Regions from separate parts of the Homo sapiens genome. Here regions 1, 2, 3, 5, 6 and 7 are each linked to region 4. The links are contacts of gene promoters, found by promoter capture Hi-C in blood cells and fetal thymus (Javierre and others, 2016). All regions are on one chromosome and are shown on one strand. Each heading gives the region's core, a stretch centred on a gene start or on the middle of the fragment in contact. The rest is flanking DNA. Distances are from core to core; before and after follow the strand shown. Region 1 overlaps SIK3 (SIK family kinase 3). Region 2 has its middle 17 kb from the start of PAFAH1B2. Region 3 holds the start of TAGLN (transgelin). Region 4 holds the start of BUD13 (BUD13 spliceosome associated protein). Region 5 overlaps RNF214 (ring finger protein 214). Region 6 holds the start of PCSK7 (proprotein convertase subtilisin/kexin type 7). Region 7 overlaps PAFAH1B2 (platelet activating factor acetylhydrolase 1b catalytic subunit 2).

Region 1 (4,074 bases), core at 1,469-3,968, 320 kb before region 4:
GTTTTCCCTCAGCCTGAGGAATGAAGAACCCTTACAGCTGCTGCCGCCTCCTACCAAAGCCACATCAATTCCCCTCACCTCCTCAGCCTAGCCTCTGGTTGTCATGACCTACCTTGTTTTTGCTTTTTTGGCAGTGGCTTGTTTTCTGAAGCCAGTGACTTATCTAGGCCTTCTCTCCTGATCACTTGCAACCTGAAGTTCCTTCCCCACCATCTTTCTGCCTGAGGCTACAAGGGGCCCTTCTTACCAGGGTGTCAGGGTGGGTGGCTGTGGCGAATTGATTGGTCAGTTTCACTTCCTCTGGAGGGCCCTCTTCAGCCTTTTTGTCCGTTTTTATCACAGGGCCTCCAGTCTGCAGGTCAGAGCTGAATGAGATACCAAAGTCCAGGGCTCCCTCAGACCCTGAGGGGAAGTCAGGGGAAGTCGATTGAGCCAAGACTTTGGTGTGCTCCTCACTTGCCACCCCAGCCCCTCACCGTGTTTCCAGTCTAGTTGACTATTAGCCAAGGCAAACTTACATTTACAAACAATATGCCTTGTTCCTTGTTTTGCTATTTCTTTCCTTTTTTTCTGCCTATTTTCTGTGTAATCACTTTGTGCTCCTGTGGTTATTTTGCTCTGACCTCTGGGGGATAGTCTCCATGAACTTAATTGGTTGCCTGGTTTATGGTTTCATGATTTAAAGAATTTTGAATCTTCCAGCCCTTGGATACACCAAAATATTGATAAAATCTGTTACAGACAGGGTTGAATGTTTTCGTAAATGTAATTGCAAACAGTTGATTCTTGGCTTTAATATAAAAGAGACATTTCTATCTTCAGTAGTCAGCAAAGCCAGTGCCTAATTATGGCTGGTCTGCCCGCTTTCTAATTTTCATGTGTGTGTATATGTGCGTGCGTGTGTTTTTCATAGTTTTTCTCTGAGACCTTGGTATCCTTTAGGACTGCAGCATTTTAAACACTGGCTTGTTTACAAACGGGTGTCACTGTTTATGTTGGTTTTTATCTTTGATCATTTGTGGTATGCAGTTGTGCAATTCCTATGTATGGAAATATTCAAAGTCTTGAATGAGACTGAAATGGCTTGGACAATGAGTTGCATGTGTGAAGGAGCCACACCAGCATTCATTTGTGTTTCTGTAGCAGTGTGCAATTTCCTAGTTACAGTTACAAGTGCTATATCTTTTGCTGCTTAAATTACTCTGACTACATGAGTGAAGCTTAATTCACAAGGAGTTGTCACGTGCTCTGGGTGAACTAGGAGCATATTTTGGCCTGCTCCATGCTTCTCTGAATCCACTTTGGAAGGGGTTCTCAAATGCGGACAGCTTAGATGTGCCTAACAGCTGTCGACATACAGTACGATGGCCTATTAAGGTTATGGTTTGGTTATATAACAATGGTGAAGGTGCATAGGTACTAGAAGTTGCCGAAGCTGCTGCTTCAGTTAACTCAGGTTGATTTTTTTTCTCCCCATGCACTGCAGCCTTTATCTTACTTCTGCAGAGGGGTCATTTGGAAACAGAGAGTTATTTTTTTCCCCCATCTGTCTCCAGAATGTGTCATTTGTTGTTTTGTCTTTTAGAGGTGTGTGATTTTTTTTTCCCCTTGTAGGAAATGGTCTGGGTTTTCTTATAACCATATATAACAGTCAGACAGAGGTAATTCAGATGATACTTGTGTTGGCTGAAGGAGGTTAGGTAATAGGTATTTTCTGAACATTAGAAATAATTATGATCCCCCTCCTTTTTTTTTTTTTTTTTTTTTTTAAACACACATGACCCATTCCAAGAACTAAGAGACTAAAGTAAACCTCATTTATTGAGTAGGATACTGCACTCCATCCAATACTGCGTGGTTAAGCTGGCCCTTTCCCAAATTCTGTTAACTCTCAAACCGTCTAGAGTGGGATCCTGGGATGAATAAAATCAGTAGAGAAAAGTGAAGCTTTTCCTATTTGGTTGTTGGTTACTTTTGCAGCACGGCATTCATGAGCTCAGACTTCATATTGGCAGCACTGCAGTGCTTAGAGCGGCACTGCAGAACAGTTACCAGGAGAGAATGTTCAGCTGTGACATACTTTGGTTAGTAGCTCACCCTGGCTGTCTTTGTCCTACCTGCTTTGATTTCCTTTTCTTTGGAAGAGCCTTACTTAGCCTGAGGTTCTCTGGCTCTGTTTTTTTTTTTGGTAGGAAACTATAAAGTATTACAGATATTTTTAAAAAAGAATGTTTTCTGCTCTCAAATTGCAGGTAGTCTGTTGCCTGTGCCTAATTATACCTTCACTAGTTGGATGATTGGGAACAAAGAGTAGATAGATTTTGTATGCATTTTTTTTCCTTTTTTAAAATATTGGGGCAGGGTCTTACTCTGTCACCCAGGCTAGAGTGCAGTGACACTGCCAGAGTTCACTGTAACCTCCAACTCCCAGGCTCAAGAGATCCTCCTGCCTCAGCTTCCTAAGTAGCTGGGACTACAGGCTTATACCACCACACCAGGTTAATTTTTAAATTTTTTTTGTAGAGATGGGGGTCTCATTATGTTGCCCAGGCTGGTCTTGAACTTCTGGACTCAAGTGATCCTCCTGCTTCAGCCTCCCAAAGTGCTGGGATTACAGGCATGAGTCTGTAACCCAAATGCTTGGCCCATATGCATTTTTTAAAGTATGCATGACTATAAAAGCCTTTGGCCAAATACGTTTAAACTATATTTCAACAAATATATATCACTTGCCTGTTATTGGTTTGTGGTAAGAGTTCCAGCTTTGGATAAAGCAACCTGAGTTTGAATCTTTTGCTGCTTAATAGTTGGATATTTTTAGGCTGTGAGAAGTTATTTAACTTCTGTGTGCTTGGGTTTCCTCATCTGTAAAGTGGGATGACAGTAGTACTTACCTCACAAGTTTAGGTGTTATGAAGATTAAAGAAGATAGTGTATGTAAAGCTCTTAGAGCAGCATGGTGCCCTAATAGCATGACGTAAATATTACCATCATCATCATCGTTATCAGATGTTTTAGTAACATAATAATATTATGGACATAATAATAGTCCTCCTTTTTTTGCTTCTCACCCCTTGGGCACGATTCATGAATGTATATGCCATTAGTTTTGTGTAGGTAGATGCCATCCTGACGATAGACTTTCCTGGTAAAAAAAAAGTTTGCTACTATTGCAGGTGCCACTTTGAGATAGTTGGATTTAATTTGTATAGGGTACAGGCTGGCTAATCTCATGAAATCAGCATTTTAAAACATAAATTTTCATTAGTTAAACTTTTTTTTTTTTTTTTAAATAGCAATGTGACTTATCTAATGAAAACTGTGACCAACACTGGCTTTTGCTTTGGGCTGCCTTGAATTTTCAGTGTGTTTTGTGTAACTAATTTTTGTTATGTTGATGATGGAACAGAGTTGAGTGCAGTCTTTTCTCCAGAGGTCCACTTAAATTAGGTTTAAGTGAAATATTTAAGAAATGTTTCTGCAAGCTTAAGGACACATTTGCCCTTGCGTGCACAAGCAAAGGCCTTAGACGGCCAAGGTCAGAATTCTTAACTTTAAATATTACACAGAGAAGACATTTTGCCCTATGACCCCTTTCCAAATATTGACTAGCCAGACACATCGGTGTGGTTTAGTGCAAACTCATTTCCATGAGGAGAACAAGTCAAAGTGGGCTAAAAGCATTATTTTCACCTCTAAAGAAGAGTTTAACGAAGCACATGAGATGATGCTTTCACCCATTAGAAAACTGAAAACAAGATTCATTTGGTAAGTAGGAGAGAATTATGTCAAAAAGAAATTGAAAGCAGAATTTACATTAGATACATTTGAGGAAGATAGCCCCATCCCTAGACAATCTAGAAGTGACTATTGAAAGATGATTATGTTCAGTTTGATACAGTGGTGATGGGGTTGCTAAACGTTTTTGAAATTTTGTAAAGAGCTAAGACTGATTGAGACTAGTCTCTCCAGAGTCAAAATACCAGTATTCCATTTTCTACATCAAAGATGTTTATTTTAACATTTTGACTTTGGTGCCAGCTCCCTAGAAAGTCATAGATCTCGCTCAAGCCA
Region 2 (4,190 bases), core at 1-2,500, 350 kb before region 4:
TCTTGTTACCCAGGCTGGAGTGTATTGGTACTATCTTGGCTCACTGCAACCTCTGCCTCCCAGGTTCAAGTGATTCTCCTGCCTCAGCCTCCCAAGCAGCTGGGATTGCAGGCACCCGCTGCCATGCCTGGCTAATTTTTGTATTTTTGGTAGAGATGGGGTTTCGCCATGTTGGCCAGGCTGGTCTTGAACTCCTGACTCAGGTGATCCACCCACCTCAGCCTCCCAAAGTACTGGGGGTGTGAGCCACCACACCTGGCCGATGCTGCTTTTTCACTCTTGCTCTAGCTATAGTCAAATCTTCCCCCAATCTTAGAAGTGGTGGATGGGAATGACACGTTGGGAATAGGAAAGGAGTTTATCAGTGAAAGGACTGGCATTCCAGGGGACAGTCACATCTTCAGGCTCCTTCTTTTTATGAATTTCCAAGCTTTCTTTCAATCATTTCAGTCAGGGTGACATAGGCTCTAAAGGTGAGGTTGAATAAGTTGCTTGCAGACTCTTGATAGTAGTGGAAAGAAGAGTAAATAAGGCTGCTGTTGCCCATGCCTCAACTCAGGCGTATTGAATTAGAATGCCTCAGGCAATGTCTCCAGATGATGACTATGGCCACTAAAGATTAAGAACTGGGCCAGGCACGGTGGCTCATGCCTGTAATCTCAGCACCTTGGGAGGCCAAGGTAGGCGGATCACAAGGTCAGGAGATCGAGACCATCCTGGACAAGAAGGTGAAACCCTGTCTCTGTTAAAAATACAAAAATTAGCTGAGCGTGGCAGCGCATGCCTGTAATCCCATCTACTCTAGAGGCTGAGGCAGGAGAATCGCTTAAACCCAGGAGGCGGAGGTTGCAGTGAGCCGAGATCATGCCACTGCACTCCAGCCTGGCTACAGAGCGAGACTCCGTCTCAAAAAAAAAAAAAAAAAAAAAAATTAAGAACTGATTTATACCAACTCTCTTTGCTTACATTCATGGAGCAAGCTTATAGACCTGGCAACTTTTGCCTTCGTTAAATTTCATTTGATTTATTTATCACTTAGCTAGATTGCTGATGATGTTTCTCTCTCAAAACAGGAGCGTGAAATGCTTTACACCTTAGGAAATATTAAGGGACATTCCGTTTACAGTTCATTGAGTAGTCATCTTTAAAATGAATTCAGAATAAGGAACAGTCAGTCTTTCTCCCTACCCCCTACCTTCATCCCCAATATATTAAAGAGGCAAAAAGCACACCTGTCCCTTGTTTTCAGGGAAGCTAGAGTGTTGCCAATGGCAACCACCAGACCACTTGAGATTTACTGCTGCAGATTCCCTAAGCAACTTTGGAAACCATCTTTGCAGGTAATCTTCAGTGAGAAAAGGCTATGGATAAACTAGTTCTCTTGCATCCCCAGCTACCACCCGTTTCTGACTTTTCCTGTGTGGCATAGGAGACTCTGAACAGCCTGTTCACCAGGGGAAGAGTTAAGGATTCTGTCTCCACTGTGTCTCTGGGGAAAGGCAGAATATAGAGAAAGCTTTCTTTGGGAAAAGCAGAAGCAGCATCTGCTCTGGGTATAGGCAAATTGCAAGAACTACTTGCCAGGAAGAATTGCTGCCCAGCTCGTAGCCTGGCACGCTGGTGTTAAAAAGACTCTTTTCAAGCTCCATTGGCACTTCTGGGTATTACAGAATTCATAGTTGAATGTTCTCTGAGATCTGTGGAATAAGAAGCACCTTTCGACATTCAGACACACATGGCAAACGTATTAGGGTTCTCCAGAAAAACAGAACCAATAGGATATATGTAGATATATAGAAAGAATTTTATTGTGAGGCATTGGCTCATAAGATTATGAAGGCTGAGAAATCGACCATCTGCTATCTGCAAGTTGGAGGCCTAGGAAAGACAATGATGTAGCTCCACTCTAGGCCTGAAGGTCTGAGAACCAGGAGCATTGATGTCTGAGGGCAGGAGAAGATGAATGTCCTTGCTCAAGCAGAGAGAGCAAATTTGCCCTTCCTCTGCTTTTTTGGTTCTATTTGCCCCCTCGACCGGTTGGATGATGCCTGCCCACATTGGTGAAGATGGATTTTCTTTGTTCGGTCTACTGATTCCATTGCTAATCTCATCTGTAAACACCCTCACAGACACACCCAGAAGTCACATTTTACCAGCTATCTGGACATCCCTTAGCCCAATCAAGGTGACACATAAAATTAACCATCACAGAAAGCAACAAGAAATCAACTCCATGGTCCAGTTACCACTTCCTCTGTGACGTCAGTGATTTCAGTCTGCTGATATTTTTGTTATCTGAAATAACTCTGTCTTACATGAATATTTGCTGGCTTTTTAGGGTCCATCTTCTAATAGGAGCCTCCTTCCTCAATGTTCCTATCAAGTCCATGGGATATCCAACATCCTTCAGTCCCAAAATATCCACAGTGCTCTATCAAGAGCTGTGGATGCTCTGAGCTGTTAACACCGCCTCCCACCATACTAGCTGGCGTGGCAGTTTCTGCTGGGGATTGTCACAGCTCTGATGGGGACAATGCACACTGCTGTATTCGGTTATTGTGCTGTTGTCCTTGCTGGATACTGACAACTCTGTAGGCTGGCACTGCCATGACTCTGTTCCCTCTTGTGGGCACTCTGAGTCTTTTCAACTGCTCCATTGAGAGCCTTCTGGGTATTAAAGGAGTACCTGGGCTGTAGCATAAAATAATTTCCCTTGCTCTTTTGGATATACACTCAGAGAGAGGTCCCAAAACATGTTATTTGAGCCCTAGTGTGTTACAGAGACAGAGAAACAGCTCTTTCTGTTTTTGTTTTGAGACAGCGTCTCAATCTGTTGCCCAGGCTGGAGTGCAGTGGCGTGATCTCTGCTCACTGCAACCTCCACCTCCCGGGTTCAAGTGATTCTCGTGCCTCAGCGTCCCAAGTAGCTGGGACTACAGGCGCATGCCACCATGCCCAGCTAATTTTTGTATTTTTAGTAGAGATGATGTTTCACCGTGTTGGCCAGGCTGGTCTTGAACTACTGATATCAAGAGATCCGCCTGCCTTGGCCTCCCAAAGTGCTGGGATTACAGGCGTGAGCCACAGCACCTGATCCAAGAAACAGCTCTTTCAATGTCTAGACGAGACTTGTCTTTTCCACGTGCCCTGGATTTTCAGCTAAGGGGTCGAACTAGAGTTGCGTTTGAGTAACAATGACCACACCTCATTCTGATGACCAAGGCACTGGCTCTTGAAAAAGGCTATCATGCTTGGCTCCTTATTTCTCTAGAAGGAAGACTCTCAAATGAAGTGCCCAGCCTTCCTGCCAATAAACTTCCTTAGACCCATCCCACCAGCTAGCCAGACACACCTAGCCATACCTGAGTCATCTTCAACAGACAAGATGAGAGCTCTGATCCAACCCTGTGCAGCCATGTGCTATCTTAAAGGTTTTTCATGTTTGTAAACTTTATTTATCCTATAGGATCATAAGACACTTGAGATCCGAGGCCATGTTTTCCACTTCTTTTATATCTGTAACATTAGTGTAGCCCCAGAACTATCCTACCGTGAAGCAAAACAAACCTAAGTAACCCTTTATAATTTAAAAAGTACTTTTGTAAGTATTGTCTCATTTAGTTTTTATAACAACTTTATTAGTTAGGTTATTATTATCTTCACCTTGCAGATGAGATCATTCAAGCTGTCCAAGGTCACCAACCACTTGGTTGCGGAGCTGAGCCTTGAATCACCATTAACTCACTCAATGTTCAGGTCTCTTTCCATTACTCCACTGCTGTCAGCTTCAGGAACCAGCTATAATGCTTATACTCTAAAGCTAGCTGCTACCTTCCCTCTCTTCCCTCCTCATCTCCCAGATCTCAGCAGGAAATGTGAAAGACGACTGAGAACAATTCATTTTTATTTCTTTTCTTTTTTTTTTTTTTAAGACGGAGTCTCACTCTGCTGCCCAGGCTGGAGAGCAATGGCATGATCTCTGCTCATTGCAACCTCTACCTCCTGGGTTCAACAATTCTCCTGCCTCAGCCTCCCCAGTAGCTGGGATTATAGGTGCCCACCACCATGCCCAGCCAATTTTTATATTTTTAGTGGAGACGGGGTTTTGCCATTTTGGCCAGGCTGCTCTCGAACTCCTGACCTCAGGTGATCCACCTGCCGTGGCCTCCCAAAGTGCTGGGATTACAGGC
Region 3 (4,245 bases), core at 94-2,593, 430 kb before region 4:
GACAAGATTAGGATTTCGGTCAGAGGGGGATGAAGCACACACCATCCCCACTCCCACCCAGCACCACCATCCTTCCCCTTCCTCCTCCTGGGTCAGGGTCGAAAAGTGGAGAATCCCCAGAAATCCTTTAGAGTCCTCTGATGAAGCCTCCCGAGTCCTGCCTTCGAGCCAGTGGGGAGGGGGAGAGGAGGATGATTACAGGGCGGCCCCCCCAGGGGCATCTCAAGACACTCCCAGGACAGCATGGACAGGCATGGACCCTCCTGCCCTGTGGCTCCTGCCAGGACCCCTCCCCTGAGCTGCCCAGTGGGTGAAAGTGGGCAGTGGAGAAAGAAAGTCCAGGGTCAAACGGGAAGGTGGCACCCCCTACCAGCAGAAGCCCAGAAACACGAGCAGAGCCAGGGGCCCCTGCAGGGCTGCTGTGCCCCTTCTCTCTTCCCAAATAGGAGTGAGCACACCTGGACCTCTGAGAGGGCAGGAGGGTGGCTCCTCTCCACTCCACGGACAAACAGGAGTGGCCTGGCTACATAAATGTGTGCCATCCTCACTGCTACCTTTGGAATAGCAACTTCGAAAGGGAACCACCCTTTGGGAAAGACCAAGGGTCCCAGGCCTGCCCCGCCTATCACTCCAAAGCTCCTCCTTGGCAGTACCCGCCCCCCACCCCTCTGCTACAGTGGGGGTGACCTCCCACTGTCAGACAGTGGAAGGGGCTGCTTGTCAGAAGGACAGGCCTTCCGTCTCCACTCTTTGCCCCTGACTGGAATACAAGAGTTCTGTGGCCCTTCACATTGTCACAGGGCTATCGCTGCTGCTCAGGCCCTGGGGACCCGCCAGAGTGGGACACCGTGCTCCAACACAGGTGCGTTCACACACTCCTCACCTCCTTGGAAGTTCTCCTGGAGGGGCAACAGACAGTAGAGCCTTGGCCTAACCGGCCGGCGCCTGCACCCTTACACACACCTTGTGGATGTGGCTGGCTGAGATGGGGAGCCTCCCTCTCACCCCGGTGGTTTCCATCAATTCCTCTGCACTAGCCAAGTCATCCGGGGCATTTCAATGAGCCCGGGGCTGCCCAGTCTGAGAGAGATCCAGGACGCTAGTGATCCAGCCCACCCTGCCTGGAGCTTGGGCCCCCATGCTGACTGAGAGGGTGGGTTTCCCTAGCCAGGGAGCTGGAGCTGGCGCCTGGGACCTCAGGAGAGCCTGCCTGAAATGCACCCACTGCTCCTGTCCAGCTCCAGCCCAACTTCCCTCCAAGCCCCAGCCAATGCACTCACAAGGCTTCCTCAGGGCTCGCAGGAAGGAGTGAAGACTTGTGTCTGGGTTCGGACAGACAGGATGGGGCGCTGGCTGGGTGAGGGGTTTAAAGGGCTGCCGCCGTGGTGATGTCAGCCTCCCCCACTGGCTCGCTCCTCGGCCCCCTCCCTGCTAGAGGAAGCCGGCTCCGCTCCCCACCCCCGGCTCCCCCAGTGACTCCACACAGGCTCCATATTTGGGGAAAGACACCAAGTTGGAGCAGTCTACCGGGGCTGCCGAGACATTCTCTGCATGCTTTGGAGATGGAGCGGGCCGGGGCGGGGCACGCTGCCGGCGGGGAGCCGGCCCGGGAAAAGCCTTTTATGGACAGGACCCTGCCCGGACTTACGGCTGCTCCTACTTCACTGTTCTCTGGCCCCGAGTTTGAGAAGAGGGGGAGTTCAATAGAGTCTGGCTGGAGAGAGGGGCAAGGGGCTGGGGAGCCGGGAATCCCAGGGGTTTGTGGGGACAAACCAGCCACCCTCTCCTCCTGGGGCTTTTAGCTCTGATGGGACATGGGATCCAACCTTTCCTGAGGACCTACTCCACACCAGGCCCTTTGCAGTGCTCTCATTGAATACTCACAGCTACAGTGTGAGGGTGTAATTACATCCCCATTTTATAGATGAGGAAACTGAGGCCCCGAGTGCGTCTTCCTCAAGGCCACATGGTGAATGGTAAGTGGCAGATCCTGCACACCTCTGCCAACCCGCATGGGTGCAGGAGAGGTGGTCAGACCCACCCTTTCAATTGGACCACCCTGCTCAGGTTGAGAAGAGCTTTCAGTGCAGGTAGGTCTTGAGTTATATGCTTTAGTTGGGGCTGGGATTTGAGGGTTCGGCAGAAGCTGAGTCCAACTCCGGTCCCCATCCAGTGGGCAGTGTCAATAAGAGGGTCTATAAGGCCTGGCAGGGCCTGAGACACTAACGCAGGAGAAGGAGGCTCAGGAGGCTGGTATCATCCCTTCCTCCCTTTAGGAACAGTCCCTACCAGCCTGGAAAACAGACCAGCCTCTGTCACTCCAGAGATAACCCACTCTCATCTTGCTCGTACCTGGCTTCAGGGATCTTGGGGAGAGATAAGAGGTTAAAAAAGGTGAGACTAACAGTGGGATCCCTGGACTGACTGCTGTGGCACTCCCCTGCAAGGGCATCTGGTAGGGAAGACCTAACACTCTCCACTACACACACACTGCCACACCCGGCACCACCCCTAGCCAAACAAGGCCCTAGGAGGGGGCTGCCAGGCCTGGCAGAGGAGGGGCCCGCCTCCGCAGTTCTGCCCACTGCAACTGGACATGCTCCAGAGCCCAGGGGAGGCACAGCCATAGCACCTCCCAGTGGCGCCTGCAGGAAAAGCAGGAAGAGGAGTGGGCCCTGGCGAGGGGAAAGCCCACTCCTCCATCCCTGACCCTGCAGACCTCTGGTTGTGTTCTGAATTCAACAGATTCCTTGGCCCCCAAATCATGTCCTCCTTAGCCGACTGAAGTCTAAATGAATCTTTCAGGGACATATCAAAACTCCCTCCTCTTGGAGCCTGCCCAGCTTTCATCACCCTCCTGCCTCGGCCTGCACGCTGAGCGGATTATAAACGCCGCATCAGGGAGCACTGCTTGGGCCTGTGGCTTGGTGAGCTGGGGGCCGCTCAGGTCAGAGGTGAAGTGAGCCTCAGTCTGGTGGGCGGGGCCAGGTGGGCAGAGACTGCTGTTCCTGGGGAGGTAAGGAGGGATGTCTGCAGTGGGATGGCGTGGGAAAGGCTTTTCCAGGAACTGGCCTCTGTCCAGCACAGTGCCCCGGTAAATGTTTACTGAATTAATGCTGTTGCTGGAGGGACAGGAAAAACGGGAGAATCAAGGAATTGCAGTTCCCAGTAGGGCCATGGCTTGAAGAATGGGGAAATGGAAGACCTCCGCCTCTCCCCTCATCCTCAACAGCTCCACCCAGAGGGAGTGCAAACAAGGGCCCCAAGAACTGAGTCTGGTTGTTTATTGAATGCAAATTCATTCATAGAAAACGGAAATGCAACCATAGCATGGAGACGCTCTGAGAAAAGATCCAGACCCACCTCATCTCCCAGCCCTTCAAGCAGAGCTATAAAAACAAGTTTGGGAGAAAAACACATTCCCATCCCCAAAGCAGAGGCCCCGCCTGAGCTCCCCCATCCTCAGCATCTGGGGTGGACCAGGTGGGACGAAGGGGATCCAAGGACCAGGGTGGCCAGGGTGCCCAGAGCTGGGGCAATTCTTTGTAAACTCCAAGGTTTCATAGGTATGTGTGTGCATGACTAACACAGAACTTGCCTGAAGACTGGACGGAAACTTAGAAGCCAGCCCTGGGTCCTAGAGCGAGGCTAGGACTGGGCACGTAGAGGGAAACAGCACATCCCTTCCTGAAGCCCCTTTCTAAGGTAGGCACTGGGGTGCCCACAGCTGTGGAGGCAGAACGGGCTGAACTCTGTATCATCCCTCCTTTGCCCCTGGACATTCTTGGGCAGTGTCAATGGCACTGAAAGGCCACCAGCTGGGGTTTGGCAAGACTAAGGGCCTGGAAAGAAGGAAGGGAAGGGGTGAGGCGCTTCTCCCTCCAGTCCTGGTGCTGGCATCAGTCTGGGAGCTGATGGGATGAAGAGGTGACCTCTGAATTCAGCCTCTTGAATCAGAAGGCGGTTCTCAAATTGGGCTGAGCGCATTGCTAAAGAGCCAGCCCTGAGCACAGGTCAGAGGGAAGAGAATACGCACTGCCCCAGGCCCCTTGCAGGCCTTAGCACCAAAAGTCTGGCACCAGCTGGCCAACCCCCAAAATCTCATACCCCCATCCATCCTGGCTGACTGGAATGGGCAGTGATGGCAGCCAGGGACAGCCCAAAGAGAACTGGGGCCCTGATACAGGACAGAGATTCAGGCCCCAGACTAGGCCCTGGAGTGGGAGTATGGGAGGAAAAAGAGGC
Region 4 (3,896 bases), core at 21-2,520:
TTTGCTAAGACAAATTTGCTTAAGTGCCCCCCCACCGAACTACTACATAAATTAGTGAAGGATGTTTTACTTAATTTGATTTTGGTAATCATTACACAATGTATAATTATATCCAGTCATCACATTGTACACCTTGAATATATATAATTTTTTGTCAAATAATAAAGCTGGGAAGAAAACGATAAAACTGACAATCTAACATATATGATGAGGTAAAAAGATCTGGTATTTCAAGAAATTTGGATGACCTCTTGCACCCCACTTCGCTAGCCTCTACTCCCTAGAGTCATGTTCTGACTATGTGAAGTTGAGCAACTTCCTTAATCTTGCCACGCTTCAGTTCTTATCTGTAAAATATGATAATGAAACGATTTGAGAATTGTGAGGGTTAAATGAGATAATTCAGGTAAAGCTCTAAACCCCCTGCAAAGAATAAAGTCTTTTCTTTCCCCCCAAAACTTGAGTGTTAGAATTCATTCTCTCTGGTTTCTCTCTTTTACTATGCTAAAAAATGATCCAGGTCCGTCCTTCTCATTGGCAAGATTGTTTTACAGTTTCCTTCAAGAGATAACTGGGGGCTACTTGTAATAGAACACTAGAAGAGTTACACAGGTCTTAGAAACTACGTTTTTCATAGTAATTATGTTGGTTTGCACTTCCTGGCTTCCTTTCTTGGACGGTAGGTACCTGGAAGCCTAGTGGAGCAGATTCCCCCCACTTAAAGATACTTATAAAAATAACGAACATAGTTCCGATGACCATGTGCCCAACACCGCTCTGCGCACTTCACACAGTAATATCATCTCAGCCTGTGACCGTTCCGAGTTAGGTGCCGGGATTCTCCCTGTTTTGTGATAACTTGCCCGAGGTCGTACAGCTAGCCAGCTATGGAACCAGTATTCAAACTCGGCTACGCTGCAGCCCGTGGCCCTCCACTTTCTTGCTCGTGCTCTGGAGTTTAGGCGGCCGATGGGGGCGGGGTCCTTTGGGTCAGGTTGTGGCCTCATAGAACAGCGCTTGCTGCGGTTGGATGGATGGGTGGGTGGGTGGGTGAGTGAATGAAGAGAAGAAACCTGGTGGCGTCGTCCCAGGGCTGTGGAGCGCCCCGAAGGTGCGCACGTCCCTGGCTAGCCTGCGAGCGCGTCCCGGTGGCCGCACCTGCCAGCCGCGCGATTCTTAGCACTCTCCGCCACTTCCGGCCGTGGCCCCGCCCTGTCGGGTGGCTGGCGTCCGTTACGCGTTGAGGCATTTTGTCCCCAGCGCCGACCCGTCTCTCTGCCCCCGCCGCTGCCATGGCGGCAGCTCCGCCGCTTTCCAAGGCCGAGTATCTGAAGCGTTACTTGTCCGGGGCAGATGCCGGCGTCGACCGGGGATCTGAGTCCGGTCGCAAGCGTCGCAAAAAGCGGCCGAAGCCTGGCGGGGCCGGCGGCAAGGGGTGAGTTGGTACCGGCCGGGGCGGGGCCTGCGACGTCTAGCCACCCCTTCCCAACTCCGCCCTCGGCCGCCCGGCAGTTCCTTCCCTCTTGGCGGGTCTCTCGGCTTCTCCGCCGACCCCTGCTCATGCTCAGGGCCCCACTCACATCGCTTGAGGCCCCCCGCCTTGCCTCTGCCGCCCCGCTTACATCTCGAGCCTCTGAGCAGTAGCGTCAGTGCGTTAAAGCCGGGGTGTAACTTTGATTACTCTTTTCCCGCCTTGGTAGACTTCCGTCCTCTCCCATAGAGAATGAATATTGTGCCTCGAGAATAATGGAGCGGATTCAAAGCCTCTGTGCTTGGATCTTTAGGGCCCGGTACCTGCCTGTGGGGATTCCCAGATCCCAAGGACTTGGTTCTGAATCAGAGACCTTTGATCACCTCCTGTTACTCTTAGTAATAGTCCTAACGTGAGAAGCTAACATTTATATAGTTATACTTTTCTTGCCAGGCACCATTATAAGAAATTTAAACATATATAAGTTTATTTAAGCCTCACCACACTACCATGAAGTGGGTATTATTTTCATATGGGACAACTTTGTGGCCCAGTGTAGTGGGCCCTACCAAATCGTTTTCCACCCAGAACCACAGAATGTGACATTTAGAAATAGGGTCTTTGGAGATGTAATCAGTTAAGATGAGGTCATACTTGATTAAGGTGGGTGCCAAATCCAAGATGACTGTTTGCCTTTTAAAAAGAGGGAAGTATGGATACAGACACAGCAACAAAGGAAAAACGACCATGTCTAGATGAAGGCTGAGATTGGATTGGATTTATGTTGCCAAAAGCCAAGGTATGCTTGGGGCTACCAGAAGCTGGGAGAGGCAAGGAAAGATTCTCTGCTAGAGACTTTCCAGGGAGGATGGCCTTGCAGACACCTGGATTTCAGATTGCTAGCTTCCAGAACTGCGAGAGAGTTTCTGTTGTTTTATGCCACGCAATTTGTGGTACTTTGTTACAGTAACCCTAAGGCACTGAGATACCCAGTGAAGTCACATTGTTCTAAAGAACTAGTCCAAGTTCTTTTCTGGTTTGGTGCTTGCCTTATTATTGTCTTCGTCTTTCTGCCTCGCTGACTTGTGTGGATCCTTTGGAGGCAGTGCCATGTGATGAAAGTAGCTTGAGTGTTGGAGCAGCACTGGTCAGAGTTCGAATCCTAGCTGTGCCACTTTATAGGCTGTGTACCCTTGGGCAAGGTGTTTCATCTCACTGAGCTGCAGTTTCCTTATCTTTAAAATGAGAATAATAATAATAATGGTTTTATTAAGTGGTGGTTGTGATTAGAGGGATTGCATTAAGTGACCCTGGCTTTTTGAATAACTTCACATCATGGCAGTCATTGTTATTATTTGGGCTCAGCTATATAGTTTATCCACGTAACAAACATTTATTGAATATTTCGTATTCCAGTTACTGTAGGGTGTTGAGGATGCCTCTGTGAACAAAAAAAACATAGTCCCTGTTCTTGTGGAGCTTATAGATTAATGGGAATACAGGCTTTAAGCAACTAATTACACAACTAATCGATATATTTTCTTTATGATAAATGCAATGAAAGTATTCCAAGAGTTTTTAACAAGGGTTCTTAGTCTTGAGTGAGTGTGGGATGGTGAGGGAATTGGGTGAAGCAGTCAAGAAAAGTTTGCCAAAGGAAGTTAAATTTGTGTTAGGACCTGAAGAATGAGGAAGAGTTTCCTGGAATGAGAAAGAGTTTCCTAGCACTTTGGGAGGCCAAGGCGGGTGGATTGCTTGCATCTAGGAGTTTGAGACCAGTCTGGGCAACATGGTGAAACCCTGTTTCTACAAAAAATACAAAAAAGTAGTCAGGCACAGTGGCACATGCCTGTAGTCCCAGCTACTTGGGAGACTGAGTAGGGAGAATAACTTAACCCCGGGAAGTCAAGGCTGCAGGGAGCCATGATGGTGTCCCTGCACTCCAGCCTGGGCAGCAGTGTGAGACCCTGTCTCAAAAAAGAAAAAGACTAGGGCCGGGCGCGGTGGCTCACGCCTATAATCCCAGCACTTTGGGAGGCCAAGGCGGGCGGATCACGAGGTCAGGAGATCGAGACCATCCTGACTAACACGGTGAAACCCCGTCTCTACTAAAAATACAAAAAATTAGCCAGGCGTGGCAGTGGTCGCCTGTAGTCCCAGCTACTCAGGAGGCTGAGGCAGGAGAATGGTGTGAACCCGGGAGGCAGAGCTTGCAGTGAGCTGAGATCGTGCCACTGCACTCCAGCCTGGGCAACAGAGCGAGACTCCGTCTCAAAAAAAAAAAAAAAGAAAAAGATTGAAAAGAGTAGATCAGGCAGAGGGAAGGAACTGCATATGTGAAAACTGATGTGATAGGAACTTGGCTCCTTTCTAAGCACCAAAGGATGACCAGGGAGGTGTTCAACCAAGGAAGTAGCAGTAGGAG
Region 5 (3,781 bases), core at 1,058-3,557, 480 kb before region 4:
CTCCTTGTCCAAAGCTACATCCATGAAAATATAAATCAATTATGTCTTTTAAAACACAGGGTCACCACGAGCCTTACTTACTGCCATTCTCAATGAGTCACCGTTGTCTTGTTGTTGTTGTCGTTTATTTATTTATTTATTTTTTATAGAGATAAGGTCTCACTATATTGCCCAGGCTGGTCTCAAACTCCTGGGCTCAAGCAATCCTCCCGCCTTGGCCTCCCAAAGTGCTGGGATTACAGGCATAAGCCATCGCACCTGCACACAATAAGTCACTGTTAAAGGTAGGGAGCTTAAAAGAGGTTCTGCACTGGAAGAGCACTAACAGGGAAACCTCACCTTTCTAATGCCAGCAATAACCTGAAGGATAAAAGCTGAGAACTAGAAATTATCCCTGCAAAAGCAAGACAATTTCCAGGACAAAGCAGCCAGGTGTCCAGGAGAAAAAAAATCAAATACATGACTAAACTAAATATTTGATCTTTTACACTTTGGTAAATTCAGTTTGTCTCCTTTAAAAATTATAATTAGACCAGGCACAGTGGTTCACGCCTGTAATCCTAAAATTTTGAGAGGTCAAGGGCAGGAGTTTGAGATCAGCCTGGCCAACAAACTGAGATCCAGTCTCTACAAAACAGAAAAACTTAGATGGGCATGGTGGTGCACACCTGTAGTCCCAGCTACTTGGGAAGCTGAGGCAGGAGGATGGCTTGAGCTCAGGAGTTCAAGGCTTTAGTGAGCCATGACTGTACCACTACACTCTAGCTGGGCCAACAGAGTGAGATCCTGTTTCTAAAAATAAAAAAATTATAATTACATTGAAATACATAGTGACTACCTTCAAATAGTACAAAGCACTTAGCAGATTTCTATTAAGTAAATTCATCTTTAATTAATATTAATGTGAAATTCCCTTAATTTCCAATCCAGTGATAGAATAAACACTTATCAAATAATTACCAGATATATGGCACTAAAAGAATAAAACATTAAAAAAAATTTCAGGCCAGGTGAGGCGGCTCATGCCTGTAATCCCAGCACTTTGGGAGGCCAAGGCGGGCGGAACAGGAGGTCAGGAGAGCGAGACCATCCTGGCTAACACAGTGAAACCCCGTCTCTACTAAAAATACAAAAAATGAGCTGGGCGTGGTGGCAGGCACATGTAGTCCCAGCTACTCGGGAGGCTGAGGCAGGAGAATCGCTTGAATCCGGGAGGTGGAGACTGCAGTGAACCAAGATCACGCCACTGCGCTCCAGCCTGGGCGACAAAGCAAGACTCCGTCTCAAAAAAAAAAAATTCAGATTCAGTTCATAAAGAAATGGCACAGGCAATTTTGCAAAGAAGGCAGAATTTAAGTTAAAACGTATAAGACAGATAAGACATCTTATCAAAGAATCCCATTATTTCCCTAATTTTCCAAGCCAGAAATATGGGAGTTATCCCTAACTCAACCCTGTCTACCCACATTGATCAGTGCTGCCCCTAAATGTCTTACAAATGTGTTCACTTCTCTCATTCCCACTGGCACTACTTTAGTTTCAGCCATAATTATGCTAACCTAGGCTCTGACAAGATAAGTCTCCTAACTGGTCAAATACACTAATCCAATCCATTTTCCAACTGCCCAAGTAATCTACTGAAAATGCAAATCATAGGCCAGGCAGGATGGCTCACACCTGTAATCCCAGAACTTTGGGAGGCCAAGGCGGGCACATCACTTGAGGTCAGGTGTTCAAGACTAGCCTGGCCAACATGGTGAAACCTCGTCTCTACTAAAAATACAAAAATTAGTCGGGCGTGGTGGCACAGGCCTGTAGTTCCAGCTACTCAGGAGGCTGAGGCAGGAGAATCACTTGAACACAGGAAGTGGAGGTTGCAGTGAGCCAAGATCGTGCCACTGCACTCCTGCCTGGGCAACAGAGTGAGACTCTGTCTCAAAAAATGAAAAAGTAAAATAAAATAAAAATAAAATGCAAATTGTATCATTTGATACTCTCCTCCCTTAAAATCCTTCAATATCTCTATCATGGAAAAACCCAAACTCCTTAACACAGTATAAAAGCCTTTCTGATCTGGCCTCACTCCCCCACTTCACGTCTTGCTTGCTTTTCTCTCACATCTCTGAGCCCCCTGCCGGCAGTGTCTTTTCCTTCATTTGTTGCCTGGCTAATTCTTCCCTATACCTACCCTGACCCCTGCTACTTTTTCTTCGAAAATTTCAAACCAAGAAAAAGTTAATAAAATAATAAAATGACCCGGCCAGCCGCCCCGTCCGGGAGGGAGGTGGGGGGGTCAGCCCCCCGCCCGGCCAGCCGCCCCGTCCGGGAGGGAGGTGGGGGGGTCAGCCCCCCGCCCGGCCAGCCGCCCCGTCCGGGAGGGAGGTGGGGGGGTCAGCCCCCCGCCAGGCCAGCCGCCCCGTCCGGGAGGGAGGTGGGGGGGTCAGCCCCCCGCCCGGCCAGCCGCCCCGTCCGGGAGGTGAGGGGCGCCTCTGCCCGGCCGCCCCTACTGGGAAGTGAGGAGCCCCTCTGCCCGGCCAGCCGCCCCGTCCCGGAGGGAGGTGGGGGGGTCAGCGGGGTCAGCCCCCCGCCCGGCCAGCCGCCCCGTCCGGGAGGTGCGGGGCGCCTCTGCCCGGCCGCCCCTACTGGGAAGTGAGGAGCCCCTCTGCCAGGCCACCACCCCGTCTGGGAGGTGTACCCAACAGCTCGTTGAGAACGGGCCATGATGACAATGGCGGTTTTGTGGAATAGAAAGGGGGGAAAGGTGGGGAAAAGATTGAGAAATTGGATGGTTGCCGTGTCTGTGTAGAAAGAGGTAGACATGGGAGACTTTTCATTTTGTTCTGTACTAAGAAAAATTCTTCTGCCTTGGGATCCTGTTGATCTGTGACCTTACCCCCAACCCTGTGCTCTCTGAAACATGTGCTGTATCCACTCAGGGTTGAATGGATTAAGGGCGGTGCAAGATGTGCTTTGTTAAACAGATGCTTGAAGGCAGCATGCTCGTTAAGAGTCATCACCACTCCCTAATCTCAAGTACCCAGGGACACAAACACTGCGGAAGGCCGCAGGGTCCTCTGCCTAGGAAAACCAGAGACCTTTGTTCACTTGTTTATCTGCTGACCTTCCCTCCACTATTGTCCTGTGACCCTGCCAAATCCCCCTCTGCGAGAAACACCCAAGAATGATCAATAAAAAAAAAAAATTAAAAAAAAAATAAATAAATAAATAAATAAAAATAATAAAATGAATGTCTACCTGTCATCTAAATTTACCAGTTGTTGCATTTTTTTTGCCACATTTACATCATGACACTTAACTCCTAAAACTTCAGCAAGTATCTCTTATGAACAAGAACATCCTTCTACATAATGAAACAATGTCATAATCACATGTAAAATATTTTTTTAATTTCTTAAACTTTTTTCAACAACATGGGTTTATACACCCAAAATACATAACACTGACACAGTATTACTTAACACGTAGTCACTATTGAAATTTTCCCAATTATTCCAAAATGTCCTATAATTATACTTTGTTTAATTCAGGATCAAACCAAGGATCATGCATTTCATTTGGTGGTTATCTTCTGCCCCTTATTTTTCAGGACTCAGTTCTGGAATGATATTCCCTGGGAAGCCCTCTGTGACTCCCCCTACCCAGTATGGGTTATATGCCTCTTTCAGATGCTTTCATACCACCACTGTCATGGTATCATTACACTATTTTGCAATCATCTGTTTATCTATGTCTCTCACAATAAACAGTAATCTCTTTGAAG
Region 6 (4,131 bases), core at 933-3,432, 460 kb before region 4:
AAACAAATTACAGGCTACAAGTTTCCAAAGTTTAAAACAAATGTATCTCTCCCCCCTCAGAATGTCCACACAACAGAGCTGTCGCAGTAAAGAAACACAAAAACCTGGGCTCCGGGAGAAAATACTTAAGAGTACTAAAAGAGACATTGTATGCAAAGTCCTAGTGTCCTAGTGGGCAGCAATCCTCAGGAGTCACTGTATTTACATAAATATCTAGGAGTCTGTGCAAAGATCTTATTTTCACTTTTGGCAGAAATGTAGTCATTTCAAACAATACATCTTAGTCTGCCAGGATCTTCCAAGTGGTCCCAGGCCTACCTTGTCTGCTATCATTTTTAATAAAAGACGTACTTTTCGGCCTAGTATCAATCAGATCTCATGTTTTTAAATCACTTTATGGCTGTTACATTCAAAGCATTCTCCATTAATTTAAGGGAAGTTTTTGGAGGTGTCTGCCTGTAAGTCAACAAGTAATGCAATACTGGGCAATCCAGGGTGCATATTTTACTGTCAGCGTGCTCCCCACAGATGGGAAAGGCCTGATACCCACTAACTGAGCAAAGAACAGACTCTTCAGAGTGACTAGTGGTGCAAAAAAGAATCCTGGGTTCTCTAGCGTGAAAAAGTCAAGGTAAAAAACATGGTAACACAAGTAAGGGAACTGGGACGGACGCCTTTTTTAAAAATCAAAAGGTCATCTTTTATGCCGCAGAGCAAACTTATGACCTTATGAGGAGAAAAGAAAATCAAAATACTTGGGAGGTGGGGATGAACATCGGGTTAGTTTGCATTCTTGCTTTTATTTTAACAGCATCACACGTATTCCCCCCCGGAACACTGAAGAGCGCATAGGGCAGATAGGTAGATGGGGCTGTGTCAACACCTCAGTCACAGCCCACAGACCCTCTGTGCCTCAGTTTCCCTCATTATACAAAGCTCCTGGGAGAAAATGGGCCCAAACCGCCATTGCTGCTCCCTCAGGTGCAAACATCCCGTCTCCAACATAGCCCAGGGCTGGGGGGTCCTCTGCGCCCGGTGAACGAAACCCCAGGACAAGGGCCATGCATGCAACTCCGTGGCTAGAGAGCCCGTGGCGCGGGTAGGAACAGCTGGCTGGAGGGTCGAGTGTACCAAAAAGAACTCCGCAACCCGGGGCGACCACCAGCGAAGCAGGGGCGCCGGAGCCACGGGTCCTCGGGCGAGAACAGGGGACAGACGGGAAGGGGACAATGGGGGGAAGCGGCGCTGGGTGGCCTTGGCCACCCCCCACAGGGGACTGCTAGGCTGGCCGCTGGCTCGGACCAGACCCCCCTCCACCCCTTCCCCTCGGTCCCCCCACCCCGCTGCCAGCCACCCCCCCGTCCCACTTCTAGGCCGGGACCCCCGCCTCGGTTCTCACAGCACCCTCCACGCCCCCCACCCGACCCCCATGCCCGGCCCTCGCCCCGCAACCCCCACCCACGCTCGCCCCGCACACACCTCCCGCGCCGCGCCCCCGGGAGGAAAGTGGGGGAGGGACGGGACGCACCTGAGCGGGCGGAGCGGGGGGAGGGGGCGGCCGAGCCACGGGGGGAGGGGTCGAGCGCCGGCCCGCGCGCGGCACCTCCCACTTCCGGCGGCACGAGCGGAGGGGGCGAGGCTCCGGCCGCGAGAGGAGAGGCCGCGGTGGCGCCGCGCCGCCCCCGACGGCGCCCTCTGGCGGCGACAGCTGGCGCCGCCGGGGCACGGGGATGCTGCGGGAGACCCCTGAGATACAAGTGGACTCTCCCGGGGCGCGGGGAAGAAGGGAGAGCCGACTGCGAGAAGGAAGGCGACCTGGGTGGGCAGGATCCCCTCTGGGAAGATTACAGGGACAGTCGGGGCCATGGCGGTCAGAAGGAGAAGAGCAACGAGTGGCTTTTAAAGGTCGGAACCGAAATGCCCTTTACAGAGGACGCCATGAAGGAGAGCCTTCTGAAGAGGGACCATGTGGAAGATGCCCCGAGGACTCGGGGAGGCGGAGCCCGCGGGTTCAGCCCCCAGCGCCCGCACGGCCCCTGCCTGCGTAGGCCGCCCGCGGGAGCCGGACCCCGGGCGCCGGTTGCTGTGGCCCGCGGGGGTCGCCGGGCCGCAGGCGCCGCGCTGATTGGCTGCGCCGCGGGCGGAAGTGATGCTGCTGTCACTGCTCCTCCGGCTCCCGGGAAGCCGCGAGTTTCCGCAGGGAGGCGGCGGCAGCTGCGGCGGGGCCGGTGAGTTGGGAACTAGGTGTGGGGCTGGACCTGGGTGGTCAGGGGGCCCCAGAAGTGGGGGAAGCCGGCGTCTGAGGATGAGGGAGCTGCACAGAGGGTGCCTGAGGTCCTGGCGTGGGGGACCAAGGAGATGGGGCCCCAGGGCCCAGAATTCCTGGATAATGTGGGTGCTAATGAGGAGAGGGGCACATTGCACGGAGCGATCGAGGCCGACGGAGGGAGAATCGGGAAACTGACCCGGTACCCAAGCTGGCTTCTAGGAGCCGGGTGTGGAACAGCGAGGACAGTAGCTTGGGAGCAGGATCTTGGACTCCAGGCTGCCCATTCTCTTCTTCCTTGTCAATTAAGAGCTGTAAAGGGAGGCCTAGCCGTTGGGAGAGGTTGAGACCTGCTTTCAGAAGGCATTTAAGGTTCCTTTCCCAGAAGCCTGGGGGATAAAAATGCTGCTTTGCCACTAGTAGACAGAAGGAGCTCCTGCTTCTCTTTCTTCCTGACATCTGTGGTGGGATCTACTGAGTCTGAAGGAGTCTGCCTAGCGGGGCCACTGTCTGGCTAACAAGGGTTTTGTTTGTTAGTTTGTTTACTTAGTAGAGTATGCAGACTGGGGAAGACACCTAAATATCTTGGGAGAATTGAGGCTCCCGGGGGCAGGGAGGGATTGAGAGGGAATATGCCTGGAAACCTAAGAGAAAACGAGAGGAAGAAATGTAGTATGAAGATTTTTAGAGGTAAAGGAGAGGTGGCATAAGTTCTCCTTTCCAGGAAGCCTTTCAGTAAAATTCCCATTTTTCTGGAATGCTTTGAGGTAGAGCCGCTTGGGTGTGTATCTGAGTACTAAGCCCTGCCCCAGGGTGGACCCAGTGGAGAGCAAAGGCTTTTAAAGGAGCCCAGCCACCATAGGTACACACATGTCCTGCCACCCCATTTGTCTGTCCCCCAGTTCTAACTTGGCTCTTTTTTTTTTTTTTTGAGGGCTCCTGAGACCAATTCCCTGGTTCTGTCAAACCCAGGCAATTGGAGTCCCAGTCTGGAGTCTGAGTCCTCACCTTGAAGCCAGCCTCCTGAGCTCAGTACAGGAGTAGCTGCTTAGTGAGGTTCTCTCATCATTCGTTCTCTCCTGGTTGCCCGCTTGTCCTTGGTGCCTGTTCTGTTTTGTTTGCACTCTCTGGCTTTCCCCGTTTCGCCCCCGCCGCCTCCCTCCTTTCACTTTCCCTGGTATCCTTCTGGGATATACAAATCAAGAAGTTAGCTACCACCTGGACTTCTAGGACGTTATTACCTACTCTTTCAAGAGGCATTTTGGTAACTGTTTTTTGCTAGGCCTCTGGGGAACAAAATGAAAAGAGGGTGGCACGATAGCACAGGAAGTGGGTTTTTTGGGTGTTATACTGATTTGGCCTCACCGTACCAGTTCTGCTCCAGTCTATGACCGATTTTAGATCTTTGGAAATGACAATTAATGAAGTTTCTTTGGTCCCTGGTCCTGGAGTTTATCTAACCTCAGCTTGTTGCCCTGGGATTGGTGGGACATTATTTCTTCTGTTCTTGGATCCCACAGGTCTGTAGCCTTTGCTGAGTCAACACTACTCACAGTGAAAGTGATGCCTTTTCTCCATTTGCACAACATGAGTGTGACGTGGTTAGCCAGACCAGGAGCTCAACCTCATGTAGAATCCAGGTGGGCACGGGGCCCTGTTATGGGGAATTAGCCTTGAGGACAACTGGACTGAGGAGTCAGCTAGGGAAAGATTTATGTCCCCTCTAAATGTAGGGGTGAAGGGGTTGTCTCTGCTAAAGAACAGTCACGATGCAGCCAGTAGTTTGTGGAAGCGATGTGTGCTTTGAGCCCTGTGGGTGGCAACAGGGGTTGCTCGCAGTGCCTGTGAGCAACTGGACCTCCTGC
Region 7 (3,945 bases), core at 21-2,520, 380 kb before region 4:
CGTTATAGTTGCACTTAACATCATACTAGAACCATTTTTCTATGTAGCAATGCAGTTTTTATAATCATAACTTTTAATGGCCATATATTCTTTTCTAGAGACAGGGTCTTGCTCCGTCACCGAGGGTGGAGTGCAGTGCATGATCACAGCTTACTACAGTCTCAAACTCCCAGACTCAAGCAATCCTCCTGCCTTGGCCCCCCAGTAGCTGGGACTACAGGCACACACCACCATGCCCAGTGAATTTTTTTTTCTATTTTTTGTTGAATCAGGGTCTTGGTGTGTTTCCTAGGCTGCACTTCTGGCCTCAAACAATCTACTGGCCTCAGCCTCCCAAAGTGCTGGGACTACAGGTATGAGCCACTACACATAATATACTCTACTGAATGCACTCAACGACACATTTTTGTTTGCTATTTTGGGGGGTGAGGGGAATGAGGGTCTATGTTGCCGAGGCTGGTCTTGAACTCCTGTGCTTAAGCAATCCTCTTGCCTCAGCCTCCCAGGTCACACTCTTCTTCCTGTGGACAGACTTGCCAGTGGCCTCTTTTTGTGAATCTAGTAAGTGTGATAAAGGGATATATATATATATAATTTTTCCTACACTGGAAATTCTTAGTCAAAATAAATCAGTATTTTTATGGATTTTGGACATATTTCCAAATTCTCAACAAAAGGGCTATATGCTAATCTGTAAGGACTCCAGCAATATATTAGAACTGGTTTTACTGTACTTGAACCTGAATTAGATATTAACGTTTCTCTTTCTTTCTCTTCCTAATGTTTTAATTTACACTTTTTGGAAACAAAGTTACACTTCCTATCATGTCTACTGAAATACTTATATATTAGTTCCTTTAGGATATTTTTATTGATAATATAAGGTATCTATGCTTCATCTATAATATTTACTGCGTTTATTTTCCTTAGTCTGCTGCTGAGCCTTATTTTTCTGGTTAATATGTTTTGATACGATTTCTATTCTATTTGGCAAGTCTTTCAACACTACCCTTAAGAAAACCTTTTAGGCCAGGGATGTGGTGGCTCACGCCTGTAATCCCAGCATTTTGGGAGGCTAAGGTGCGTGGATCACCTGAGGTCAGGAGTTCAAGACCGGCTTGACCAACACGGGGAAACCTCGTCTCTACTAAAAAAACACAAAAATTAGCCGGGCATGGAGGTGGGTGCCTGTAATCCCAGCTATTCAGGAGGTAGAAGTTGCAGCGAGCCAAGATCACACCACTGCACTTCAGCCTGGGTAACACAGTGAGACTCCATCTCAAAAACAAAAACAAAACAAAACCTTTTTATTACGCAAAATATCAAATGTATACAAAAGCCGAGAGAATAACATCTCCATTCAGAGAGAATAAACCTCCATGTATCAATTACCAGCTACAGCAATCATTTATGGCCTGCATTATTTCAGTCATACTCCCAACTACTGCCCCACTCCATCCCCAGACTATTTTGAAGCAAACTGAGGATATATCATTCCAAGTATAAATATTTCAGTATGCAATGCTTAAAAGATTTTTAAAGTCAGGCACGGTGGCTCATGCCTGTAATCCCAACACTTTGGGAGGCTGAGGCAGGAGGATCACTTGAGGCCGAGAGTTCAAGATCATCAGCCTGGGCAATATAGTGAGACCCTATCTCCACAAAAAATAATAAAAAAAATTAGCCCGGCATGGTGGCATGCACCTGTGGTCCCAGCTACTTGAGAAGCGGTGGTGGATCACTTAAGCCCGGGAAGCCAAGGCTGCAGTAATGGTGCAAGCTGTAATGGTGCAAGCTGTAATGGTGCCACTGCACTCCAGCATGCTTGACAGAGCAAGATTCTGTCTCCAAAAAAATTTTTAAAATATTTGTGTTTTTCTTCCATTTGACTGATTTTTCTACAGCCAGAGCTCATTGAAGCCTATTAACTTAAGACAAGAATAATGAAGATATCTAGTTTAGTTACTACTTTTCTTTTCTTTTCCTTTCCTTCGTCTTGAACTCCTGGGCTCAAGCGATTCACCTGCCTCAGCTTCCCAAAGTGCTGAGATTACAGGTGTGAGTCACTACTCCTGGCCTAGTTACTATTCATAAAGGTATAAATGATCCAGATGTCCATGAAAGAAAAAATGGGCAAATCAACTGTGGTATACTTCTTTTTTTTCTTTTTGAGATAAGGTCTCAATCTGTCACCCAGGCTGGAGTGCAGTGGCACAATTATAGTTCATTGTAGCCTTAATATCCTGGGCTCAAGTGATCCTCCCGCCTTGACTTCCCAACCTGCCCTGGCCTCCTAACGTGCTGGGATTACAGGCATGAGCCACTGTATACTGCCCTGTCTTAAAAAAAAAAAAAGAAAAGAAAAAAATATTGGGACAACTGGAGAAATCTGAATATGGTCTTTGGATTAAGTAATAATAGTATTATATCAATATTACATCTCATGATTTTAATAACTATCCTATAGTTATTTAAGAAAAGTCCTTGTTTTTAAGAAAACATGCTGAAATATTCAGGGATAAGGGAAATGAGTGCAAATGCTTCAGAAAAACCCACTACGTTAGTATATACATATAGAAATAGATATAGACACAGCAGGGCATGGTGGCTCACGCCTGTAATCCCAGCACTTTGGGAGGCCTAGACAGGCAGATCACTTGAGGTCAGGAGTTTGAAACCAGCCTGGCCAACATGGCAGAACCCTGTCTCTACTAAAAATACAAAAATTAGCTGAGCGTGGTGGCGGGCGCCTGTAATCCCAGCTACTTGGGAGGCTAAGACACAAGAATATCTTGAACCCAGGGTGGCAGGGGGGTGGAGGCTGCAGTGAGCCAAGATTGCACCACTGCACTCCAGCCTGGGCAAGAGTGAGACTCCATCTCAAAAAACCAACAACAACAACAAAAAAAAAACTAAAACAAAATAGATACAGACACAATAATTAGGCAGATACGGTAAAATGTTAACAATTGGTGAGTCTAGATGAAGATACTTCTTTCTAAATTTCTGTAACATTTGTGTAGTTTTGAAATTACTGCAAAATAAAAAAACTTAAAATATTTCCCAGTTCCAACATCAGAATGGTGAAGAGGCAGGACATTTGTAACATTACATTTTTACTTACAGTAACAAATTCTTGTTGACTATTAAAATCCCCCTTTGTACAACCTGTCACGGGTCACAAGGTTACAGTTTTTTTGTTTGTTTTTTGTTTGTTTTGAGATGCAGTCTTGCTCTGTTGCCAGGCTGGAGTGCAGTGGCACAATCTCGGCTCACTGCAACCTCCGCCTCCTGGGTTCAAGCGATTCTCCTGCCTCAGCCTCCTCAGTAACTGGGACTATAGGCGCCTGCCACCACAACCGGCTAACTTATTTTTAGTAGAGACGGGTTTCACCATATTGGCCAGTCTGGTCTCAAACTCCTGACCTTGTGATCCGCCCACCTCGGCCTCCCCAAGTGTTGGGATTATAGGCGTGAGCCACCATGCCCAGCCTAGAGTTTTGTTTTGTTTTTTTTTTAATTGCCCCTTTGCAGTTTTGGTCAAAAGACCTTAAAATAATTGAAGAAGCCAGGCATACTGATATGTGCCACTAGTCCCAGCTATATGGGAGGCTGAAGTGGGAGGATCACTTGAGCCCTGCAGTTTGAGATCAGCCTGGGCAACACAGTGAGACCTTGTCTCAAAAACTAAAACAAAACAGACAAAAAACTGGAGACTCAACTCATGTGAATGATACACATGCACTTCCTTTTACCTGAGACATCCATCGGTCATCTCCTTGAATATCTTCTGCTGCATGCGGAATAGCTGCTGGGTTTGAGTCTCCTTGGCTCATTCTACACCTGAGAAAAAACGTCTATGTCATGTTTCATTTGTTAACAGGAAGGTTTGTTACCACTTAAATATTATACACATCAGGCTTTAAATAATAATTAAAGTTTTAT

Evidence for each region. Contacts are between HindIII fragments. The CHiCAGO score rates a contact against its expected background, and 5 or more counts as called.
Region 1: a fragment that was not itself captured here is called in contact with the fragment with the promoter of BUD13 in region 4 in 13 of 17 cell types (non-activated CD4 T cells, naive CD8 T cells, fetal thymus and 10 more); the score reaches 15.8 in non-activated CD4 T cells.
Region 2: a contact is called between a fragment that was not itself captured here and the fragment with the promoter of BUD13 in region 4, in 17 of 17 cell types (total B cells, total CD8 T cells, naive CD8 T cells and 14 more). The highest score is 18.7, in total B cells.
Region 3: a contact is called between the fragment with the promoter of TAGLN here and the fragment with the promoter of BUD13 in region 4, in 14 of 17 cell types (naive B cells, erythroblasts, total B cells and 11 more). The highest score is 15.1, in naive B cells.
Region 5: a fragment that was not itself captured here is called in contact with the fragment with the promoter of BUD13 in region 4 in 11 of 17 cell types (naive CD8 T cells, total CD4 T cells, activated CD4 T cells and 8 more); the score reaches 9.9 in naive CD8 T cells.
Region 6: a contact is called between the fragment with the promoter of PCSK7 here and the fragment with the promoter of BUD13 in region 4, in 13 of 17 cell types (naive CD4 T cells, naive B cells, neutrophils and 10 more). The highest score is 16.1, in naive CD4 T cells.
Region 7: a contact is called between a fragment that was not itself captured here and the fragment with the promoter of BUD13 in region 4, in 16 of 17 cell types (neutrophils, naive CD8 T cells, activated CD4 T cells and 13 more). The highest score is 16.8, in neutrophils.

The regions. Positions count from the first base shown.
Region 1 is chr11:117,092,888-117,096,961 of GRCh38, reverse strand. The region is part of intron 1 of SIK3 (SIK family kinase 3); the gene reads left to right. Among named protein-coding and RNA genes, the nearest start is that of SIK3, 3.5 kb to the left of the region's middle. RefSeq lists an enhancer at 1-26. The HindIII fragment of the contact is 1,538 bases long and covers 1,950-3,487 here.
Region 2 is chr11:117,124,802-117,128,991 of GRCh38, reverse strand. It overlaps the pseudogene LOC101060089. Among named protein-coding and RNA genes, the nearest start is that of PAFAH1B2, 17 kb to the left of the region's middle. The HindIII fragment of the contact is 536 bases long and covers 983-1,518 here.
Region 3 is chr11:117,196,468-117,200,712 of GRCh38, reverse strand. TAGLN (transgelin) reads right to left here and starts at 1,343. Exons shown (of 5, transcript NM_003186.5): 1 at 1,281-1,343. It overlaps LOC100652768 (a long non-coding RNA gene), which reads left to right. Exons shown (of 8, transcript NR_045215.1): 2 at 801-862; 3 at 1,925-1,976; 4 at 2,277-2,394; 5 at 2,806-2,927; 6 at 3,309-3,483; 7 at 3,567-3,705. It overlaps SIDT2 (SID1 transmembrane family member 2), which reads right to left. Exons shown (of 26, transcript NM_001040455.2): 26 at 3,271-4,245. RefSeq lists a silencer at 2,426-2,720 and enhancers at 2,123-2,786, 4,119-4,245. The HindIII fragment of the contact is 9,715 bases long and covers 1-4,245 here.
Region 4 is chr11:116,770,361-116,774,256 of GRCh38, reverse strand. BUD13 (BUD13 spliceosome associated protein) reads left to right here and starts at 1,270. Exons shown (of 10, transcript NM_032725.4): 1 at 1,270-1,435. The coding sequence starts at 1,293. It overlaps ZPR1 (ZPR1 zinc finger), which reads left to right. Exons shown (of 14, transcript NM_003904.5): 14 at 1-458. BUD13-DT (BUD13 divergent transcript) reads right to left here and starts at 786. Exons shown (of 2, transcript NR_186226.1): 1 at 746-786; 2 at 52-347. RefSeq lists an enhancer at 722-811 and a silencer at 932-1,131. The HindIII fragment of the contact is 6,866 bases long and covers 1-3,896 here.
Region 5 is chr11:117,250,043-117,253,823 of GRCh38, reverse strand. The region is part of intron 6 of RNF214 (ring finger protein 214); the gene reads right to left. Among named protein-coding and RNA genes, the nearest start is that of RNF214, 19 kb to the right of the region's middle. The HindIII fragment of the contact is 9,181 bases long and covers 1-3,781 here.
Region 6 is chr11:117,230,124-117,234,254 of GRCh38, reverse strand. PCSK7 (proprotein convertase subtilisin/kexin type 7) reads left to right here and starts at 2,182. Exons shown (of 17, transcript NM_004716.4): 1 at 2,182-2,228; 2 at 3,787-3,906. RNF214 (ring finger protein 214) reads right to left here and starts at 1,584. Exons shown (of 15, transcript NM_207343.4): 1 at 1,529-1,584. RefSeq lists silencers at 1,445-1,784, 1,995-2,144 and enhancers at 2,335-2,384, 3,254-3,493. The HindIII fragment of the contact is 17,537 bases long and covers 1-4,131 here.
Region 7 is chr11:117,152,339-117,156,283 of GRCh38, reverse strand. It overlaps PAFAH1B2 (platelet activating factor acetylhydrolase 1b catalytic subunit 2), which reads right to left. Exons shown (of 6, transcript NM_002572.4): 2 at 3,756-3,843. The coding sequence starts at 3,836. Among named protein-coding and RNA genes, the nearest start is that of PAFAH1B2, 10 kb to the right of the region's middle. The HindIII fragment of the contact is 8,620 bases long and covers 1-3,945 here.